2 separate regions of the Homo sapiens genome follow, and region 1 is linked to region 2. The links are contacts of gene promoters, found by promoter capture Hi-C in blood cells and fetal thymus (Javierre and others, 2016). All regions are on one chromosome and are shown on one strand. Each heading gives the region's core, a stretch centred on a gene start or on the middle of the fragment in contact. The rest is flanking DNA. Distances are from core to core; before and after follow the strand shown.

Region 1 (5,677 bases), core at 2,481-4,980, 710 kb after region 2:
CTTTTCTTCTGAGTTTAATTTTGAATAACAAAATAAAACAATTAAATTAGTGGAATAAAAATGTTTGCAGTCATGAAGTGTTTGACTGAGACAGTCACAAAATAATCCATTTAAAGTTGGCTTTTCTGTATTTGAGCCATTAGTCATCTCACTAAATTACAGACAGAACTGCATAGGTGAGGGGAAAAAAAACTAACATGTCACCTATTTTTCTGCTGCAAGCAAATGTAATAGGTATTGTATTGCTTTATTTTAGCACTTCCTAACATGAAGTAAGTGTACACAGGAATAAAACTAAAAGGTTGAAATCCAATTTTACCGTTGTATTTCTTGAATTACTAACAGTACTTTTAGTATGGGTTACTACATTCCAACTTCTGTCAAAATTCTAGCAGTCAAGGACCATTCAGTATTTCAGGGAATCTTGATAAGGATAAATCTATTAGGAGGGAGAAGGCTCAGGTGGCTGGAAGCCATCCCTGTAAGTGATAAACATGGCACCTTGAATAAATAAAGCTTGATTGTGGATTTGACAAGGTCTATGTGTTGATTCTCAGGTAGAAACATCTGCATTTTTAGGGCATTCTGAATGTTTACCTGTTCATTAAACAAGTACCCATTAGCTTTTTCTCTATTATAGATCATGTAAAAGGCACTGGGGATACAGCAATGAGAAAATGAAGAATAAGAACAATAATTACTCATGCAATTAGAACAGTATCACTTGCTATTACTGCTGAGAGTATCCCTAATCATCTATTTACTGAACTGTTACTAAGATTCTACTTTGGACTATGCTTTGTATTGGGCACAGATGCTACAATGGCAGACAAGGTCTAAACCCTACTGGGAAGAAGGTATGTGGCCTAATGTAAGGTTTCCAGGCCTGAATATCCTGAGAAACCCATAAGATTTATTAAATTGTAATATTTACAGTTCTACCCAAGGTATTTGTATTAAAAGAAAATAAAAATGTAAAAAAAAATTCCAGATGATTCTGACAAACTGCTAATTGTGAAATCGTTCTCTAGTCTAACAACACAAGAAAATACTAAATGCTATCCTCTTACAGAACTTTGACATTTGGAAAACATTTACCCTCATATACTTGGGCTTTTGTATGTGTTATTCCACTTGGCAAATGCAGAGTGTCCATTTTCCTGAGCAATAATATAAAATCAACATAAAATAATAAAACATCATTTTAATGTAATTTAGTTTATTAAGGCTTTATTTTTGTACTTGTGTTCTTCAACATTCCAATTTTATTTTTAATGTAGAGGCTATTGATGGTATTTACTAGAGAGATAATCATGGCAATCAACTCGACTCTGCCATATACATATGGTGTTATGCTTGTAGAACATTGAATTTTCTTGGCAAAAGTTACTTTCCCATTCTTGGACAATAACACTGGAAAAACTGCCCCAAAATTCAGCATTGTCCTTGGCACCTAAACTCAATCACTGCCCATCTATTCATAGAGATTCTTCTTTTACTTTTGTCCTGTATAAATTAGTTGCCAATATGGCCCCTCAAGATAAACGCTTGACTAAGAGGGCCAGAATTACATCTTAAAAGAGTTATCTATATTTTGATATATCAAGTTATTGCCATTTGTTGACATAATTTTATGTAATTTCTATAATTTCAGTCATCATAAGGCTGCCTGCCGTAGCATAACATTTTCCTGCCTAATTTTGACTAGTCGAGGGATGAGCAAGCATATTTAAAATAGCTATGTTACTATCCACATAGATCACTGATGTCAAAGTCCAGAATAATTTGCTTAAAAGCTGGAAATTAAGAAATGTGAAGCCATTATTTCAAGTTTGCTAGATCAAAAAAATTTTCATGATAGTGTTAACCCAGGTGCCATTTGAAACAGTTTGGCTAACGATCTTCTTAAGAGTTAAAAACGAAACAAAGTGACTTCATTGGAGTTTAATCCTATCCTTTGATTGCTGGATGCTATATTAATTTTTTCACCAGTTCAGCTGTTCCAATGTAACAAATTGGCTTTATCTTCATTGGTCAGCTTCTTCCTGTAATTCAGACAACTTAATGGATTTTAGTTCTAAATAGAGTATGGTTTGTTTCTGAGTATTAATTTCAACTTTAGTTATTGTGCAAATTATGCCCTAACTTAAAATTGAACCACATTGACCACTAAAACAGAAAAGTCTAATATATGACCCAAATTAACAAATTTTGCCCAGACAGCAAAGTTAAGTTGGCTTGATTTCCTCATTCTCATATACTATTTCACAAAGCATGTTCTCCATCTAGTGGCTGGAAAGCTCAGAGGACAAGCTTATCTCATTATTACTAATTCACTATATATTTATATATCTTTATAAGAATAAACAAATCACATATATATGACAATTGAGTTTTTATTCTTGCCTTCTACACTATTATAGGGGACAGGACAAGGATTCGGTTTTATTAACTTTACATTAACTGAGACCTTCAACATGACAAGACAAACAATTTTTTAATTGCTTGAAATAAGACTGAGAAAGAATACAGTAAGTAGATTTCTGCAGAGTATAAAATAACATAAATGTCATGTATAATTGTTAGTAAGTGCTTGTTTTTATTATGGAACCAAATCAGGTAACAGAATCCTGGATTATAAAAGGTATCTCTTGGAATCTATGTTCTTGGCTATATTTCTAATCAATTATTTGTTTATTGGGTCTGGTACTTTCTACTGGATCCACATTATGAGCAAGAACAGCTCATTTTTCCTTTCTCTACAGTTACTAATGAAATGTTCCTTTCCATTTCATCACACTACTTCAGCTCTCATTTTCTGCTAGTTGTCATGTTCTTGGAGTAGTTCTTATCCCAGAAAAAGAAAAAAAAACTTTAATCAGTAAAAATACTAAATACTATCAAAGATCATAAGAGGATATTTTATACATATATGCATGTCTATTTTTTTAACTGGAAATTTCAAAGGTTTTCCTTGACCTTGGTGAGTGCTGCTTTGGTAAAACGAATGCCTTGGGGAACTAAGTCAACTCCGAAAGAGCTGAAAATCTTCCCTCACAACACCAGAGAGGAATATTTTAGAATCAGAAGTATGTTAGGATTCATGTTCTTGTATTTGCCCATTTTACAGATGACATAGATGGAGCTAGCCCAGAGTAGTAAAAGGATGAAGTTGAGGTAAAGTAGGCTTCAGAATAAGATGTGTTCAAATACTCCATCTGCCACTGGCCAGCTCTGTTATCCCAGGCCAGTGACTTAAACCTGCAGAGCCATGGTTTCTGTTCCATAAAATGTGAGTACTATTACCTGAAGTGTAGGGTCATTATTAAGATGAAGCAAGACACAGACAGACAGACAGACAGACAGACAGACAGATGATTGATAGACAGATGATAGATAAATCGATAGCTATTATAAACACTTGGGACATGTAGCTGGCAATCTATCATCTATCTATCTATCTCAAGAGTTTATTATAGTGCCTGGTACATAACAGAATTTTTTAAAACGTAAGGTTAATTACATAGTAAGTTAAAATGAAAGACCTAGGTCTTGAACCTGTCTTAAGCCCAGATTTTCCATCATGCCACATGGTTATACATTGATCTTTTAAAGACTTAATGATAAAATGGTATTCATGAAGCTGAGTGAAGAAAGTGCTTTATAGCAATTGCTGACTTAATAAACTGATGTCTCTAAAAGTTAAATGATGAGAAAATTAAATATAGCTTCAGCAATTAAATAATTTTTTTTCCACATAGCCTAAAATCTGGCAATTAAAAAAATAATTGTTATATTTATAACTATAAAACTATAATTATACTTCTGTAGATATGTAGTATAGCTTATATATTTCTAGAGTATGTGAAAAATGCATCAGAACACCTCTCTCTCCCTCTTTCTCTCAATACCTCATTAGATAAGTTTCCATGTTAAATAAGTAGTTTCCTCAAGAAAAAATGTAAAAATGATATTTAATAATTAGCAGACATATAGAACAGTGAGAAGGACTATTAAAGAAACACATGGATTTTTTTTTTTCTATTTTAACCAGGTTTTGCTCGCTATACTACTCAATGTCATCAGGTAATGAGCACTCCCACACTTCTTTTAGGTAAATGACAAACTGGAAGCACAATCCAATGCATGTATTCATTTTACTAACATAAGTATATCTAATAATAATTAACACTAATGAAATGGATTCAAATATTTCAGTAAAAAATTACAGACATCTCACAGAGCTATCGCAAAATACAAATGTTTCCCAACAGATTTCTTCTCACTTTGACAAATCTTTGTTCTTCATATCTTTGTCTTCAAAGTCAATAAACATCTTTCTAATTGAAAGGGCTTTTTTTTTTTTTTTTTTTTTTTTTTTGGAAATCAAGGCCTATAATATGTAAGTATGGACATACACATGAAAAAAATGTAAAAAAAAAGACAACTTATTAAAAGATTCATCAAGGAATTTTATATTTTTTCTGTGAATTAGAAAAATATACAGTTCTTGAAAAATGACGCATGAGGACTCACATGTACACTACCTTAGTGCTTAACATTTGCCTAATTTCTGTCTCATTTTCTAAGTTCACTATTAAAACTGAATGAGGGTTCTAACATTCTAAAATAAACTAATATTGTACTTCTCCTTAAATATTTAGAGCTCTTTTTGTAAAATTACTTTTTTAACAACTATAATACATTAAAGCTCTGAGTATAAAATTTCACTAAGGCCATATCAAAAATTTCAGGGACCTGTTGCTAATAATTTATAAACTTATAAAAGCCAATCTCGCCATCTAGTGGTTATAGATGAGAAATATGAATTAAAAGATTGAAAGTAACCGTTTCTATTTTAAGACATTTCAAATTAGCCAAACATATTTACTTGTGCAGTTTTTTAAAAGGTACAAAAACAATTCAGTAGAGAAAAGATAATCTTATCAACAAATGATGTTGGATAGATTATATTCCATTGGCAAACAAAAAGAATATTAGCCTATACCTCACAAATTAAACAACAACAAAAAAGCCCCTGAAAAAAATAGATTAAAACACAAACACTAAAAGTTGTAGGAAAAAATGGGACATAATTTTAGAGATTTAGGGATAAGCAAAAATTCTTAGATGACACCAAAAGCTTGATCCATAAAAGGAAAAACTGAAACGTTAAACCTTGTAATTAGAAACCTTTGCTCTGTGAAAGACAGAGGATGTTTCATTCGTTAAGAGGATGAAAAAAAAGCTACCTACAGACTGAGAGAAAATAGTTTCAAAACACATACTGGAGAAAGGAGTAGCATTTAAAAAATATGAAAACTCAAGTAAAAAAACAAATAATTTAATAGAAAATGAGCAAAAGATATGAACAGCCACTTCACTGATGAGAATATGGAAATGGAAAATAAGTACATAGGAAGATATTCAATATTATTTTCCATTAAGGAAATACAGATTAAAACCACAATAAGATAGCATATGCTTTTATTAGAATGGTTAAAATAAAAAAAGTAGTGACAACACAAATCTTAGTGAGGATGTAGAGAAACTAGATCACTCATACATTGCTGGTGGGAATGTAAAATGGTACAGCCATTTTGGAAAACAGTTTGGCAATTGCTTATAAATCTAAATATGTAAACATAAAAGTCAGCATTTGCACTCTTGGATATTT
Region 2 (5,540 bases), core at 1,108-3,607:
ATAATACATAAAAGCTTTAAAAAACTAACAAGACACTGTGGGATACAAAAAAAGGTAGAAATGAAAATTACAGAATGTTAAGTGAAAAAACTGAAATCCATCTACAGTCGAACAGTTTGCACCTTTAAAAGCAATGACTTGAAGCAGCAAGCAAAAGTTCCCAGTCCTTAAGACTTTCTCCCCACTCTCAATTCTTTCTTTCCTCTAGTGCAAAAGCTGTCTAAGCAGTGCACGCCGGAATTATCCCCACGTGAGCCTTCCTTTAATTTCGGTCTTAATTTTTTTCTCTCTTGTTATTACTCCCAGACCCCAACCTCTTTTTCCTCATCTAGTATCTGTTTCAGGGACAGGACAAAGAGGAGGCAGCGAGCTGAAAAAAGTTTTGTGGTTTGGGATACTTGGGCCTTTGTTGTGTCATTTCCTCTACCCCTCCACGCCCCCAACCACGTGACCAAGAAGGGCCGGAATTTTGTGAATGGAGACGAAAGGTGGCTGTTGGGGCGGGCGGGACTCCGCCCCCTTCCCTAAAGCGGCCAATCTCCTAGCGGAGCGCTGAGGGGTCAGCAATAAACAACAATGGGCTGGGGATTTACGGCTCGTTATTGGCTGCGGGAAGAACCTCGCCGGGACCTAACCCGAAGCTCCGCCCCCTCGCGGTTACCCTGGATACCCGTCAGGCTCGGGCTGCAGAGAAGGTCTTTGGAAACTGTTGCTCAGATTACAGGCGCTGGGTTATTCCAGGAGTGCAGGGTGGTGGAGGACCCTTGTTATTGACCCCCTGCTTGGTTGCACCCTCAGATAGTACCCATGAGCTTCACTGTTCAGCCTCGGGGCCCAGGCGCTTCCTGGAATCTCTCCTTGGCCGGGGTTAAAATGCAGTTCCCGCTCAAAATGCTTATAGGTGCGCGCGTTGTGAACTCCGATTTAGTAGTTTCCGGGAATGCGCGGGGTCTGTCTTTGCTGTCCATAGTTATTGGTTGTTTTCCCAGTAATAAGTGTTGATTGTTTGTTTGTTTGCTTCTTTTTTAAGTAGATCTTTCTCCTGCCCAGGTCCGGGGTTGAGTGCTGTGCGCTCTTACACTCCATTTTAATGTGTCTCCATAACGTTCTATTTAAGGAAGGAAACTTTCAAATAGAAATTGAGAACTGCAGCACGTTTCCTAACGGGCGGAACAGCTGCCGGAAACGTCTTTTGGTCACTAGTTCTGGTCACAAATGAATTTCAACAGCATTGAGTCCCTGGTCCTATCCCCGCGGCCTCCCGTCCGCTGTTGGACACTGGCTCCTTAAAGTGACGCTTTACTGTTCTGAGTCCCATAGGAGGATCAGGGCAAGTGGCTTCAGAGATGCAGCCCTCACTGCTTAACGTCCTAGTTATTGTCCTTGAAACCCGAGCCATCTCACCGCTCGCCCCCAACCCTGGGCTCTGGCTGTTTAAAAGCTGGAGAGGAAGTGAAAGCGTCAAGTACAGTAAGTGACACCCTCCGCCTCCGTGTATACATAACAAAAGCTCAGGAAACGTGCGGGTTCTAGGATATACGAGCAACCCCAAGCACTCCCTCCTCCTCCCCACAGCCACAGTGGACTGGAAGTACCTTTTCCCAGTGCACACGTAGGGACCATTTTGACTTATACTTTTTCACCTAGCTTGCTCTGTTGTCCTCCCATCACAACCTCTGCTAATCAGCAATTCTGCATCTCCTAGGTGCCTTCCTTATAGATTCTTTATGTTTCTGTCCCACGAACGATAGGATCTAATTTTAGTTGAGGATGACTGTTTAAAAAATGTTTCGATAAACCATAATGGTGATGGTGGGTTTTGAAAAACGGGAAAATAAATTGGGCCAAAAGCTGAGTGGGAATGAGGATAGAGAGCGAGGTGAGCTCCTAGTCAGGGCAAGAGTAGAGAGGTTGGAGATCCTGAGGGGAGGGCAGCTGAATAAGGCGGTACGGGCTTTGTGGATCGCGGCTCTAAGGGTATACCAGAACCGCACAACAGTACTTTAAGGAAACCAGCCCAATAGTGGACCTAACACCCCAATAATGGGAACTGGCGACTCGAAACACACGGTTTCAGTATCCCCAGGCGCCTTAACAATAAGCAGCGGGTTACAGAGGAAATCGAGTCTCTCCGTGGCGCTTCCAGGCTGAGGACCCAGCGCCTACCGGCCGAGCACCCCCTAGGGCAGAGGGGCGAGGGAGACCCGCGGGAAGGGGCAGCAAGCCGCCTGATTGACAGCCCGAAATCTGATCTTGTGAAAGAGACGCGGAGCCAATGGGAGGCAGCGATCCATCAGTTTGGATTGGAGGCCCCTGGAGGAGAAGTAGAGGAAAAACCACCGAATTGAGCTCTGTCAGAGGCGCTTTCGGCTTCCAAGGGGGAAGTGCTGGGCTATAATTAATGTTTTTATTAAATTTGGAGGGAAGTTTTTGCAGCCTTTCGCCTAGCGTGGCCTTCAGGTGGGTCTTTCCAACAACTTTTTATGTCTCTCCAGATAATTGCATGGTTGTGGGTCGCAAAAACTATCCTGATGAAAGAGGTGTCTCCGTCTCTTTAGTCCCGTTAGGTGCAAAGCAAGTCTCGTTGATCGCCATTGCTAGTTTTGCACACGTTTGCGAATCAGAGCTGCCCGGGGTACACCGACCGCGCAGGGAAACATCGAGAGTGTAAATAAATACATCGCCTCTTGTTCGGATTTTTGCTACTACCGAAAATATGTAAATTGTGAACTCTGTTGGCTCTCTTTGGATCCAGGTGAAGGAGGCGGTGTAGGGAGGGTTATTTTTGTGAATGGGACTGTCGGAGGGTAATTAGCTATGCAAATTCAAGAGCTTCATTCATGATTTTTTTTTAAGCCTAAAAGCCATCTTGTTCCCCTCTAGGTTGATAGAAGTCCAGATCCTGAGGAAATCTCCAGCTAAATGCTCAAAATATAAAATACTGAGCTGAGATTTGCGAAGAGCAGCAGCATGGATGGATTTTATGACCAGCAAGTGCCTTACATGGTCACCAATGTGAGTGATCAGTTTGAAAGTTGCTGTTTATAAACTTGACTCCGTCGGGGGTGGGGAGAGGGAGAAAATGAGAAGGGAGGGGGCACGGGGGTTGGGATTGCAGATACTTATCTGCTTTGTTGCCACTGTAGGGCGACTCTGCTTCTAGAAGCCCAGTCTTCAAAATGAGCTTACCTTTCAGTGATTTGGATAAGGCATAGTTTTGTTTTTAAGACCCCTTTTTCTGATTAAAGTGCCCAACATGAGTGGAAGAGGAGATGGAGGGCAGCAGCAGCTGCTGCACTCAAAGTTTTTGGCTGGGTTTGTCTGCCACATTGAAAAGAATGAAGTTGAGACAAATGCTGACACTTTTTGTTTATATGGGGTGTTTTTGTTTCTTTTTTTTTTCTCATTTTCTCTTTTTTTTTTTTTTCATTTCTCTACTCTTTTTGCTTTTTTTTTTTGTGGGGGTGGGGTGGGGAGGAGGGGCTGTCCAAGAGAGAATAAAACCCACTGTTTTAATCTAGCATTGAACCAGCCTAAAAACAACTTTAAGTGTAAATGCTTCAGGTTGTTTTGATGCTGAGATACCATGAATATATGATTGATAAATAGTAATGTGCTAAGATCGGCACTGGGAAGCAACTCTCCCTGCCTGCTTAACATAAGCTTTCACTGTCAAATAAGTGAGAAAATGAATATTAGAGTTGATACTATGGACTTCTATTTTTCTATTCAGAGAAGATCCATTAGACTTATGTATGCATGTCTGTGTGTGTGTGTGTGCGCGCGCGTGTGCGTGTGTGTGATCTGAGGTTTACATTCTTTTAAAGGATTTTATCTTTCCCTTTGTAGAGTCAGCGTGGGAGAAATTGTAACGAGAAACCAACAAATGTCAGGAAAAGAAAATTCATTAACAGAGATCTGGCTCATGATTCAGAAGGTGAGGTTTGATTTTGGGCTGAATCCCCATTTTTTTACCTACACTCTCCACCCTGCTAAAAGAAAAGGAGCACTTCAGTCTTATCTTAAAAATAATAAACTTTGAAATTACTGAATCTAACTAAGACTTTAACTTGGAACGATTTACATAATGCGGCAGTTTGCATGGGAGACTATTTTATGGTCCTATCACAAAGTAATGAAAGAAGGAAATAAAAACTTCTCAATGACAACCTTCTTTTAATCATTGTTTTGTGTTTAAATACCTTTGTCCATGGGGCATATAACTCACCCCATTCACTAAGATAACAATTTAAAAATATCCAATACAGTGGGACAAATTCAGCAGCTATGTACACTGCTTACTTTTTTCTTTCTCCTTTATTACAAGTTAAACAGTATTAGTGATTGTTTGGTTTCCCACCTCCTTTACACTAAAACCATCTACTATTAACAGAATTTTCAAGGGTGATTTTGATGACTAAATTGTGAGGTCATAATACCTTGTTTATCGACCATAATGTGTTCACTGAATCATACTTAAGGCCTCCTTAATAATTATAATACTATTTGGGAAATTAGTTTGCAGATTCTTTTTATGAACTGTTGCTAGGATGTCAGTATGTTACAAATTATTTTAGCCATATGAGGACATTCATAATAAACTTAATATACTTAGATTTAATTATCAAAGTTTAGTTGGCAATTTTAATTAGATATACTGAATTCTGAAACTTCCTCAAATCTTCATACCATTTAAATACCTCCCTCTCTCCCTCCCTAACATGACCATATAGTTTAGAACTTGATGAGAACCTGGTGCCAAAGAATTATCTTTCTGACTTTTATAAACCTATTAATGTAGAAATTTTCCTCTAAAAACTTGTATTTGAAGTGGTTTCTTTTAGTTTCGAGGTATTGAAGTTGAAAACATAATACTTTGACAGTTGTACCATGTACCATTATATATTTTATGTAAGATTCAGAAGATATAAATAAAATGCTTTTCAGTCTTTCTAATCTTCCCCCTACTACTATTTTAGCAAGAGTTAAATATATTTAAGGAAGATTTCAGTGAACAGACACATATTCACCTCAGCCTTTTTGTGAATTCTGGTATCCCTGAGCTTATTTATTAAGCTGTTTGTTAAAAAGAAGAAAAGATGATTGACTTTATTCTTTAGTTGACTAAAATAATTTCTTAAAGAGTTGCTTAATAGGCATGAAAAGTAGGCAGTATTATTGAGATATTTAAGTTATGCCTCTTTTTTTTATTTTTATGTTGACTGCGTCTCTTGAAATTAAATTTATATTTAATACCAATTTCATGACAAATATTTCCATTTAATGAAGATTAAAGATTTGCAAATCTTATGTTTATGTCTTTGACTTGTTTTTTAGAACTCTTTCAAGATCTAAGTCAATTACAGGAAACATGGCTTGCAGAAGGTAAGGCAAAATTTGCTTTAAAAGGGGGGAAAGCAACTCTAGAAGGAGAAAGAAAAGAAGTCCTGAACTTGCTGTCTTAATATTCAGCCCAATTAATTGAGCTCTAAAAGAGCCACCTCATGTGTCATGCATACATTAGAGCCTCTGATGAGTTT

The links. The method cuts DNA at HindIII sites, captures the fragments that hold promoters and counts their contacts. A CHiCAGO score of 5 or more calls a contact.
Region 1: a fragment that was not itself captured here is called in contact with the fragment with the promoter of ETV1 in region 2 in 1 of 17 cell types (megakaryocytes); the score reaches 5.3 in megakaryocytes.

Annotation. Positions count from the first base shown.
Region 1 is chr7:13,279,169-13,284,845 of GRCh38, reverse strand. No RefSeq gene overlaps it. Among named protein-coding and RNA genes, the nearest start is that of ARL4A, 590 kb to the right of the region's middle. The HindIII fragment of the contact is 2,830 bases long and covers 2,316-5,145 here.
Region 2 is chr7:13,986,483-13,992,022 of GRCh38, reverse strand. ETV1 (ETS variant transcription factor 1) reads left to right here and starts at 2,357. Exons shown (of 14, transcript NM_004956.5): 1 at 2,357-2,460; 2 at 2,559-2,755; 3 at 2,884-3,015; 4 at 3,850-3,937; 5 at 5,338-5,385. The coding sequence starts at 2,971. RefSeq lists an enhancer at 336-837. The HindIII fragment of the contact is 3,649 bases long and covers 17-3,665 here.